Linked DNA regions of Homo sapiens: regions 1 and 3 are each linked to region 2. The links are contacts of gene promoters, found by promoter capture Hi-C in human tissues and cell types (Jung and others, 2019). All regions are on one chromosome and are shown on one strand. The core of a region is centred on a gene start or on the middle of the fragment in contact, and the rest is flanking DNA. Distances in the headings are between cores, read along the strand shown. Region 1 has its middle 3.6 kb from the start of SRRM1. Region 2 holds the start of GALE (UDP-galactose-4-epimerase). Region 3 overlaps STPG1 (sperm tail PG-rich repeat containing 1).

The links. The method cuts DNA at HindIII sites, captures the fragments that hold promoters and counts their contacts. A contact is called where the count stands out against the background at its distance.
Region 1: a contact is called between a fragment that was not itself captured here and the fragment with the promoter of GALE in region 2, in 1 of the 25 tissues and cell types used here (aorta).
Region 3: a fragment that was not itself captured here is called in contact with the fragment with the promoter of GALE in region 2 in 1 of the 25 tissues and cell types used here (liver).

Annotation. Positions count from the first base shown.
Region 1 is chr1:24,637,695-24,641,642 of GRCh38, forward strand. No RefSeq gene overlaps it. Among named protein-coding and RNA genes, the nearest start is that of SRRM1, 3.6 kb to the right of the region's middle. The HindIII fragment of the contact is 5,786 bases long and covers 1-3,948 here.
Region 2 is chr1:23,798,221-23,802,003 of GRCh38, forward strand. GALE (UDP-galactose-4-epimerase) reads right to left here and starts at 2,534. Exons shown (of 12, transcript NM_001008216.2): 1 at 2,492-2,534; 2 at 1,146-1,216; 3 at 667-792; 4 at 395-510; 5 at 1-10. The coding sequence starts at 787. HMGCL (3-hydroxy-3-methylglutaryl-CoA lyase) reads right to left here. Exons shown (of 9, transcript NM_000191.3): 9 at 3,665-3,783. RefSeq lists silencers at 1,945-2,044, 2,095-2,574, 2,735-2,944. The HindIII fragment of the contact is 13,480 bases long and covers 1-3,783 here.
Region 3 is chr1:24,407,828-24,411,710 of GRCh38, forward strand. The region is part of intron 1 of STPG1 (sperm tail PG-rich repeat containing 1); the gene reads right to left. Among named protein-coding and RNA genes, the nearest start is that of STPG1, 4.0 kb to the right of the region's middle. The HindIII fragment of the contact is 5,786 bases long and covers 1-3,883 here.

The DNA of each region.
Region 1 (3,948 bases), core at 274-2,773, 840 kb after region 2:
TTTTTAGTACAGACGGGGTTTCACCATGTTGGCCAGGCTGGTCTTGAACTCCTGACCTCAAATGATCCACCCGCCCCAGCCTCCCAAAGTGCTGGGATTACAGGCGTGAGCCACCGTGCCCAGCCAACACCTATTTTGATCTGCCCAGCATCAAAGTGAGCAACAGGTGGTGTCTGCAAAAACTTTCACTGCCAAGTAGTTATCCACTGCATCTGCAGGGATCATCAGGTAGGCAGCTCATCGGCCTCAGCAGATTTTCCGGTATAGACTCTTACTGATAGAATCAGTGGTTGCAACATTTTAACCAACAGACACTCATTGATAGAAATACTTTTGGAAATTGAGTCTTAGACTCTTTTTTAAAAATAGAGGTGGGGCAGTGGGGTTGGGGGTATCTCACTATGTTGTCCAGGCTGGTCTCAAACCCTTGGCCTGGAGCAATCCTCCCGCCTTGGCCTCCCAAAGTCCTGGGATTACAGGCATGAACCATGATGCCCAGCCTTAGACTCTCATTCATATACTCATTTCGACAAATGTTTATTGAGCTCCAAGGATGGGCAAATCCACACCCACATAGAGCTTTTTTATTTAAAAAAAAAAAAGGAAGAAGATAGTAAACATATAAACAAAATAGATAATAATCCCAGGAAATGTTAAGTGTTATTTAAAAAAAAATAAGGGGCTGGGCACGGTGGCTCATGCCTGTAATCCCAGCACTTTTTGAGAGCCTGAGGCGGGTAGATCACGAGGTCAGGAGATCAAGACCAACCTGGCTAACACGGTGATACCCTGTCTCTACTAAAAATACAAAAAATTAGCCAGGCGTGGTGGTGCATGCCTGTAGTCCCAGCTATTCAAGAGGCTGAGGTAGGAGAATCACTTGAACCTGGGAGGCGGAGGTTGCAGTGAGCCGAGATCGGGCCACTGCACTCCAGCCTGGGAGATGGCAAGACTCTGTCTCAAAAAAAATAAATAAATAAATAAATAAAAAATAGGACTGGGCATAGTGGTGCGTGCTTGTAATCCCAGCATTTTGGGAGGATGAGGCAGGTAGATTGCTTGAGCTCAGGATTTTGAGACCAGCCTGGGCAACACGGTGAAGCTTCATCTCGAAAAGAAAAAAATACAAAAATTAACTAGGCGTGGTGGTGTGAGCCTGTAGTCCCAGCTATTCAGAAGGCTAAGGTGGCAGCATCACTTGAGCCCAGAAAGTGGAGGCTGCAGTGAGCCAAGATCACACCAATGAGCCAAGATCACACCAATGCACTCCAGCCTGGGTGACGCAGTGAGATCCTGTCTCCAAAAAAAAAAAAAAAAGAAAGAAAGAAAAGAAAAATAGGCCAGGCATGGTGGCTCACGACTATAACCCCAGCACTTTCGGAGGCTGAGGTGGAAGGCTCACTTGAGCCCAGGAGTTTATGACCAGCCTGGGCAATACAATAAAGCCCCCGTCTCTAAAAAATAATTTAAAAATTAGCTGGGTGTGGTGGCACACACCTGTAGTCCCAGCTACTCAGGGTGCTGAAGCAGGAAGATTGCTTGAGCTGGGGAAATTAAGGAGGCTGCAATGAGCTGTGATTGCATCACTGCACTCCAGCTTGGGTTACAGAGTGACCCTCTCTCCAAAAGAAAAGAAAGAAAAAGGTAAGACAGAGTGAGGGGATTGAGGGTGTCCTTTTTGGAAGGTTGTTCAGAAAAGGCTTGATGAAGAGGTGCCATTTGAATCATCTCTTAGTCATTTTAGGCTTACCAATATATAGACAAATAAATTGCCATTCGAAATCTAAATCTGTTCATAATCAGACAAGCATCTGTAGTTTATTGTGGCTGCAACTTAGAAGTAACGGATGAGGAGAGGGAGGCATAAGCTATTAAGAGAGGTGAAAAGGCAAGAGTTGGTTGTAGAGTGTGAGGAAGAGAGAAGAATCATGATAGAAAGAAAGGTGGGCTCATTCATTGAGAATGGGAAACCAGAAGGTTGAAGGCAAGTGGATGAAGATGAATTCAGTTTAGGGTATGTTGAGTGTGAGGTGCCTATGGGACATCCAAGTGAATAGGTGAGCAGGAAGTTGAAAATATAGGTCTGGAGCAGGCCTGTGCCTGAGATACACAGGTTTGAAATATGAAAGGTAATCAAAACCGAGAGGTCAGAGAGGGCACCTTTGTTGAGGGAAAAAGTAGTCAATGACAGAACTACCAGAAAAAACAACATTTATAGGATTGACAGCAAACAGACAGAGACAGTGAAGGAAGCCCAAAACAGAATGACTAATCAGAACCATAGAGAATAGTCAGGGAGATGTGGGGTGTTGTGATTTCATAGTTCCCATCTGGTCAAGTGGCTTGTTCTGTGGAGGCCTGTCACTTCCCTGTCTTTGGCCGTCTGACAAAGCCTTCATTCACTGAACAAATGTTTATTGAACCCATGCCATGTGTCACTTTTCTAGTGACACATGAATGAACAAAACAGTAAGCCCTGACTTTAGGGCACTTACATTCTAGTGTGGGGAACAGACAATAAACAAACATTAAAAACAGGTTAAACGGCCGGGCGCAGTGGCTCACACCTGTAATCCCAGCACTTTGGGAGGCCAAGGCAGGTATCCCTTGAGCTCATGAGTTCGAGACCAGCCTGGGCAACATGGCAAAACCCCATCTCTACAAAAAATACAAAAATTAGCTGGGAATGGTAGTGCGGGCCTGTAGTCCCAGCTACTCCAGAGGTTGAGGTGGGAGGATGGCTTAAAGCCAGGAGGCGGAGGCTGCAGTGAGCCAAGATCACGTGACTGCACTCCAGCCTGGGTGACAGAGCCAGGCCTTGCCTCAAAAAAAAAAAAAAAAAAAAAAAACAGGTTAAATGCATATTAGGTGATAAAAGCTATGAAAAAAAAAAAAAGAGTAACGGGCATCAGGATGTAGAGAGGATATCCGAGCAACTTCCAACAAGGCAGTCAGGTTAGGCTTCAGTGAGTGACCATCGAGTAAAAACTTTAAAGTAAAAACTTTGCCCAGGCCGGGCACGGTGGCTCACGCCTATAATCCCAGCACTTTAGGAGGCCAAGGCAGGTGGATCACGAGGTCAGGAGTCCCAGACCAGCCTGGCTAACATGGTGAAACCCCATCTCCACTAAAGATAAAAAAAGTAGCCGGACTTGGTGGCGGGCGTCTGTAATCCCAGCTCCCAATTTGGGAGGCTGAGGCAGGAGAATTCCTTGAAACTGAGAGGTGGAGGTTGCAGTGAGCCGAGATCCTGCCACTGCACTCCAACCTGGGCAGACAGAGCAAGACCCCATCTGCGGGGGGGCAGTGGGGACTTTAAGTTTGCCCAGTAGATATCCAGGAGTAGGTCAGCGTGGTGGCTCATGCCTGTAATCCCAGCAGTTTGGGAGGCCGAGGCGGGAGGATCAGTGAAGGTTGGGAGTTTGAGACCAGACTGGCCAACATGGCAAAACCCCATCTCTACTAAAAATACAATAATTAGCCGCGCGTGGTGGTGCGCACCTGTAGTCCCAGCTGCCAGGGAGGCTGAAGCAGGAGAATCGCTTGAACCCGGGAGGCAGAGGTTGTAGTGAGCCGAGATCGCGCCACTGCACTTCAGCCTGGGCGACAGAGCGAGACTCGGTCTCAAAAAAAAAAAAAAAAGATATCTGGAAGTAGAGCATTCTAGATTACATCAAAGACGAAATAGCGTGCATCAGGTAGGATTTTGGCTTTTGTTCTAACAAAAATGAGAGGCTGCTGGAAGGTTTTGAGAAAAGTGTCTGATTAAGGTTTTCTAACAGAACTACCCTGCCGGCTACACTTAGAGTAGATGCTGAGTGGCCAGGGTAGAAGCAGGAAGACCACTTAGGGGGTTAGCGCAGTTCAGGGAAGAGACGATGGTGCCCTGAACCACGATGACAGCAGGGAGGGTTTCTTGATGGTTTGAAAGCCGAGGTAAAGGAAAGG
Region 2 (3,783 bases), core at 1,284-3,783:
TAAAGCTGTACTGCAGGGGTGACATGGCCAGAGGTTGCTCTACTGGTTTTAGTCCTTGGCAATGCCCTCAGCCTGCCTGCCTGCACTCACCTTTTTTTTTTTTTTTGACAGTCTCGCTCTGTTGTCCAGGCTGGAGTACAGTGGTGCCATCTCAGCTCACCGCAACCTCCACCTCCCAGGCTCAAGCCATCCTCCCATGCCAGCCTCCCGAGTAGCTGGGACCACAGGTATGGGCTACCATGCCCAGCTAATTTTTGTATTTTTCTGTAGAGATGGGGTTTCACTGTGTTGAGCAGGCTGGTCTTGAACACCTGGGCTCAAGTGATCTCCTCACCTCGGCCTTCCAAAGTGCTGGAATTACAGGCGTGAGCCACCGTGCCCAGCCTGCACCCACCTTTTTGAAGAGACGCTGTAGGGCTCCCTGGTCCAAAATGTCCATCTCCTCAAACTCCACAGAGCGGCCTGTCAGCTCCTGGACCCGCCGCAGGCTCTCAGGCAGGGAGCCCCCTCCTGGTAGGGTACATGTAGGCCACATCATCACGACATGGGGTGCTGTGTTCCCAGGGACTAGCCAGACACACATTCCCCGCCCGGTGGTGGAGGTGGAACCCAGGGTTTTGCTTCTGCCATCCCCTCAAGTAGCCCCAGCCCCACTGCCCCGCTCACCACGGAAGGCATTATGGAAGTTATCGATGACCACAGGCAAGTAGCCAGCCTCCAGCAGCTCCAGCACCGTGTGGCTGCCAATGTAGCCAGCCCCACCTGTTACCAGCACCTTCTCTGCCATGGCACCTGGCCCAGGATACAGAGTCTCAGAGGTGGCTGAGGCTGCCTGCTCAGAGCTTCCTTCCCACTGGAATCCTGCCCCCTAAGCTCGCTTTGGAAGGAGGCGGCAGTGTGCCCTAGGTACCAGACTGGCTCAGAAGTCAGCCCTGGGGCAAGTCTGGGTACCATCACTTTCTGGCCTTAGGCTTTGGAAATTAATTAGCCTCTTGGCCTCAGTTTCTATCTCTGTAAAACAGAGCTAATAATTGTATAAACTTCATGAGGCAGCGTGAGGGTTCAGTGAGGTGATCTTAAGGGCCCGCCACAGCAGAGCTGGGGAGACCTGACACACAGGCACCTTATTTTCTAGTTCCACTTGCCTTGGAGTTGGAAAAGATGGAATCTGAGGATCCACACTTCTTTGTCCAAGGTGACTGAGGACTGGAGAGTCCTGGGCAGAAGGAAAATGGCAGCACGATTGGGACTCCAGGGTCGCAGGAAGGGGTTCTGTCTGCTCAGACCCAGGCTTGTCCAATGCCTCCGCCTTCGCTAGGTGTAAACTGGCTCCTGGGCGCAGTGACTAATACCTCCTGCTCTAGGCGGCCCCCACCCCCTTTCCCTCAAGGGTCAGCTGGGAGGAAGCAGGAAATAGATCACATGGCCTCAAGGGTGAGGTCCTTTGCCAGGCAGGCTGAGGCCAGCTCAGGGGCAACCACACCGTGGTTGGTCCTGGAGGGGGCCCCACCCCAACCCCCGCTCAGCCTCTGCCCATGCCAGGGCCAGCCCGGTCACTCCTGGCTCAGAGTTAGGAATCCCGCCCAACTTAGGCTACTCTGGGTGGGCCGTGTAGACGTGGACTTGGCCAGGTGCGCACCTCCACCCTGAACAAACTCTGCGGGTAGTACGGGGAGGAAGCCCCAGACACTGAGGCCTTTCATTCCCAGCGACCGGGCCCGCTGCCGCCTTCCTCCACGCTGCCTCTATCCCCTTCTGGGCTCACGCAGCTCCAACCCACTTGACCAAGAGCCCTCTGCGTGCCAGGCTCCGTACCAGGCACTTTTGCATGATTTTCCTGAATTCCCCCAGCATCTCGGTGAGACAGGTGTTATCACTGGCACTTTACAGATACAGATACTAGGGCCAGAGAGGTGAAACAGTTGCCCTTCGGTCCCACAGCTGGCGACAGCGGGCTGGAATCTGGATCGCCAGGCTCGCAGCCCGGCCCTCTCCCCAGGCGGCTCGCCCTTCCCCCACCGCTGCCCGCTGGACTCTGCCCGCCGCGCCGAAGCCGCCCCCGCCCCCGCCCCGCGCCTGGCGCGGACCCCGAAAGTGGTCGCAGAGAGGCCCTGGGAAGCACGAAAGCTGGTCTGAGGCCGGCTGCGCCCCCGACAGCGGAGTGACCTTGCTCAGCCGTCGCCCACTCGGTTTTCCCAGTCTGTCTGTTGGAGGGAAGGGGAGCTAGGCCGTGGGCATACGAGGGCGGCTGGGTCTCAGGCTGGGCTTTGGGCTGTAGCGCGGAGCGGGGCCGAGCTAGGAGTCCTCAGGCCGGCAATGAATGAACCCCGGCCGCCCCAGCCCGGGCAGCGGGGAACTGGGACAAAGGGGGCGGGCCTGCCCTGGAGGGACGCTGCCAGGAACACGACCCGCCCCTCGGAAACTCCCTCGCTCCCCGCGGACTCCCCGGCCCCTCGCGAGCCCACCCGGCCCTTCATTCCGTCTCCCGAACCTGCTCGGGTTCCCGCGCCCCACGCTTGCTGCAGAGGCACCGCCTCCTACGCCCGAGCCGCGGGCCCTTTAAGTGCTGACGGCCCACTCCGGCCCCGACCCCGCCCCTCCACGCCCCCAAGGAAACATGTCACTCGGGTTACGGCCACTACGGGGAGGGCGGGAGGACAAAAGGCCTCCGCGCTGTGACGAAGACTGCGCAGCGCGCGCCCGCGGAAGGCGGAAGTGGGCGGTGCCACCCCGCGAGAGGCGCCGCCGGCGCCAGGTCCCAGTAGCGGGTGGGTCCTTGCCGGTGCCCCGGGTCCCCGCGCTAGCTCGTCCCAACCCCTGGAAGAGGGCTGCGCTTCCGAGGGGGCAGGGGGCAGAGGGTAGGGGGCCCACGCCTCCGCCCCACTCTGACCCGCAGGTTTTCAGACTTGCCGGTGTGTGCCAAACCATGAATTCAAAATCTTGAACTACCCGATCCCACGGGACTAAGGCAGGAGGGGGTCGCAGGGGGCCTGGTGCTGGAAGTCCAGTTTGCAAATAAACCAAGGAGCTGGAGGAAGCTGTCAGGCCACACTAGCGGTTCCAGCGCTCTTGGCTCTCAGCCCCCACCTGCCGGGAAGGGTCGGTCTGCACTCTGCCTTCCACGACGGCAGGTTAGAAAATGATTGTTTGTTTACAATGAAAAGTAGTAGAGCTAGAGAATAATATGCACAAAATGTGACATCCTGCGTGATGAAACCAGAGCAAAGGAGCCCTAAATGCAGGAGCGCACAGGTGTCCGCGCAGCCGGGAATCAGCCAGCGCCTGCCCGCAGAGTCCAGGGAACCGACAGGTGAGCGCTCCCGGGCCCGGGAGCGCCAGGGAGAGGCCGGGCCACCGAGGCCCAAAGCAGCAAGTGTGTCCTCAGGGGAGCTTGTGCAATAGCCCCAGTCACAGAGGCAAAGCTCAGAAACAACCCCGTCGGGTGTTCTGGCCAGCAACTGCCGCAAGCAGCCTCCTGAGTAAGCCCAAAACCACTGATTTCCAGTCACTATGGATTTGGGGCTCAGGTGGGGAAACAGGGAGGAAATCCAAAGATTAATAAACTAGTTCATAGTCTCCATTTTCCTCTCAGAGTGCAACATGGTAAAGTATTTTACTCCCCCACGCGCATGTATACACACAGCTGCACAACCGAATGCTGGAATTATGATGTGCCATTCAACCTTTAATTACATAAGCTGTTTTCAAAAATCACATTCAGCGTGGAGATTTTCCAGAGATGCTGGAGTTGGCAGACGGCCACCACGTAGCTCTCCACTTTCC
Region 3 (3,883 bases), core at 50-2,549, 610 kb after region 2:
ATTTGGGCTCTTTTTCTATGTCTTCTATTTCTAGCCTCATCATGTTCAGTTTCCTTTACATCCTTAGGAATATTTGTAAGATTCATAGTAGCTGCTTTAAGGTTTCTTTGTACTAATTCTATAATCTGTCATTTTTAAGTCTGTTCCTATTGGTTGATTTTCCTCTCAGATATGGGTCATATTTTCCTTTTCATGTCTGGTAATTTTGTATTAGATATTGGACATTTTGAATTTTACATTGCTGGGTGCTGGGTTTTGATATATTCCTGCAAAGGATGTGGCACACTTTTCAGTAACTTGTAGATCCATCTGACCCTTTCAAGCTTTTAAACTTTGTTATGGCAAGTCCAGAGCAGCTTTTATTCTGGGAATAATTTATCCCCACTACTAAGGCATGACATTTCTGTGAACTCTACCCAATTCCTATCTAATACCATGTCTCTGCATTCTGGTTTATGGTAACATGCAACATTCCCAGTTCTGTTTAAGCCCCAGAAATTGTTCAGCCTATGGCCTTTTGATGGGTATTTCCCCAGTCTTAGTTTCTTCTCATGCATGTGCAGATTACTGCTCAGCCAAAAACTTAAGGAGACCTCTCTTCAGGTTTCTGAACATTTTTGGTGCAGCTCCTTCCTTTAGGGTTCTCCCTATAAATTCTAGCCTCTTTGGCCTCTCTGAATTCTTATTTTTATCTTCTCAACTCAGAAATCTAGAATTCATTTGGATTTCCTACAATATGGCCTAAAAACTGACCCCAGTACTAAATGGGGGCAATTGTAGGACTCACCGTGTTTTTCTTCCTTCAGGGATTATTGTACTGTGCCTGTTGTCCAATGTGAGTTGTTTAACACATTTAACTACTTTTTAGTTGTTAATAGCAAGGGCACAATTTAATTTCCATAGCAATTATTTTTTATTAGCAGACTTGGGTTTCATTTTGCCCATTTTTTTCCCTAAGGAACTTATACCATTTATATATACTAATGAGTAAAGGATTGAATAAATGATTTTACACTCTACTGGTCCTTTTCCATGCAGTATTTTTCCTTACTTTATTCTGTAATCCTCACAGCAGCAATTTTCAACTTTTTTTTGGTGGACAATCTATACTAAAAATTTGATATTTAATAGAATTATTGACAACATTCTTCAAGAAATTAAGAGATTCAAAATAACAGAAACAAATCAATAATGATCAAAGCACAATCACCAATCCAGCTTAACAAGGTCTTTTAGTATCTATAAAAGCAGCCCCTAGGGCTGGGTGTGGTGGGTCACTCCTGTAATCCCAGCACTTTGGGAGGCCGAGGTTAGGCGATAGCTTGAGCTCATGACCAGCCTGGGAAACATGGTGAAAGTCCGTCTCTACAAAAAATATAAAAATTAACCAGGCATGGTGGCATGTGCCTGTAGTCCCAGCTACCTTAGGGGCTGGGGCAGGAGGATCACTTGAGCCCAAGAGGTCAAGGCTGCAGTAAGCTATGTTCGTGCCACTGTTCTTCAGCCTGGGTGACAAAGTGAGACCCTGTCTCAAAAAATAACCAAAGCAGCCACTATTCATTTACCACCCCTCAGTGTTATACCATTTTAGTAAGAACCATCTACTGCCCTAGCTTTAATAAAGCTGTTATTAAAAAATGTATTAGTGTTCTGGAATTATGAGTGATTAGAAAAATATTAAGCTTCCTGTTTTACAGTAGTCCACCCTTGTCTGTAGCTTTATTTTCCAGTTTCAGTTACCCATGGTCAATTGTGGTTTGAAAATATTAAATGGAAAATTCCAGAAATAAATAATTCATCAGCTTTAAATTATGCACCATTCTGAGGCATGTGATGAAATCTCCTATCGTCTGACTCCACCCTACCTGGGATGTGAATCATCCTTGTCCAGCACATTCAAGCTGTATTTGCTACCCCACCATTAGTCACTTAGTAGCCATCTCGATTGTCAGATCCACCATCACGTTGTCTCAGTGCTTGTGTTCAAGTAACTCTTACTTTACTTAATAATGGCCCCAAAGCACAAGAGTAGTGATGCCAGCACTTTGGACATGCCAAAGACAAGCTGTAAAGTGCCTCCTTTATGTGAAAAGGTGAAAGTTCTTGACTTAATAAGGCAAGAAAAAAACTGTATTCTGAGGTTGCTAAGATCTACAGTAAGAATAAAACTTCTATCCATCAAATTTCAAAGGGGAAAAAAATTGGTGCTAGTTTTGGTGCTTCACCTCAAACTATAAAAAGCTGTTGCCACAGAGCATGATAAGTGCTTAGTTAAGATGGAAAAAGCATTAAATTTGTGAGTGGAAGATATGAACAGAAACAGTCTGATTGACAGTAATCAGTTTGGGTATTATCCACTGTTTCACTGGCATCTACTGGTGGTCTTGGAACATATCCCCCTTGAATAAGGGAGGACTACTATAATAATAATGTATGTACACTGTCAACATTTAAGAAAATATGATAAATTACAAAAAAACTTTAAACAATCTGCAATCCATGGCCGAGCGCTGTGGCTCACACCTGTAATCCCAGCACTTTGCGAGGCCGAGGTGGGCGGATCATGAGGTCAGGAGATCCAGACCATCCTGGCTAACACAGTGAAACCCCATGTCTACTAAAAATACAAAAATTAGCTGGACATGGTGGCGTGCACCTGTAGTCCCAGCTACTCAGGAGACTGATGCAGGAGAATCGCTTGAACCCAGGAGGTGAAGATTGCAGTGAGCCAAGATCGCGCCACCGCACTCCAGCCTGGGCAACAGAGCGAGACTCCGTCTCAAAACAAACAAACAAACAAATAAAAAACAATCCCCAATCCTACCACCAAAAGACCACACTGTTAATAATGCTTTCCAGTCTTCTCACTGCATACCTGTGAAGGCAGGATGAGAGCAGGTGCAGGACAGATGTGAACAGAGCACTGCCCAGGTGTGCCTCACTGGTCCACCTGTATAACTGTCCATGACAGGATGGCATGGACCTAGAATCTAAGAAAGAGCAGTGAAGATATACCACTTTCCGAATCAACAACATATGTTTAAGCGATTCCTACGTGGGGGCCAGCGCAGCAGTCCAGAGTATCCAGTCCTGGGTTCAAGGTTATGGCCTGCCACTTAATAGCTCTGATTCTCGATGAGTCACTTAAACTTCTGAGCCTATTTCCTCCTCCATAAACTGGGAGTGATAACAGTACCTTCCTCTTAGGCTGATCCATGTGAAGTGGTTAACACTGCCTATCCTGCAGTAGGCTTGTATTAATGTAGGGTTTTAATATACGCACAGGGATATCGTATTAACAACTTAAAATAATAGCTATCATTTATTGAGCCTGCACAGTCCTAAATGCCTTCTATGGAATACCTTATGCAATTTTTATAATAATCCAGTGAGGTATAATCCCCACTTTTTACAGATGAGAAAACTTAAGTTTGGTGGGGGGTTAAGTGACTTGCCCAAAGTCACATTAGAAGAAAAGTGGAATCAGGCTTTGAACTCAGGAAGTCTGACTTCTACTCACTCCTTAACCTCTATAATAACCTCTCAGGCAGCACACACTAAATATTAACTTGCTAAATTTTGACATTTAGCACCCGAGTGGGTATGATTGGTTTGTTATTATTATTTTTAGAAATAGGATCTTGCTGTGTCGTCCACTTGCTAGAGTGCAGTGGTGCAATCATAGCTTACTGCAACCTCAAACTCCTAGGCTCAAGTGATCCTCCCACCTCAGCCTCCAGAGTAGCTAGGACTACAGACACCTGCCACCACACCTGGCTAGTTTTAAAATTTTTTGTAAAGACAATGTCTCACCTATGCTGCCCAGGATGGTCTCGAAATCCTAGCCTCAAGTGATCTTCTCACCTCAGCTTCCCAAAGCACT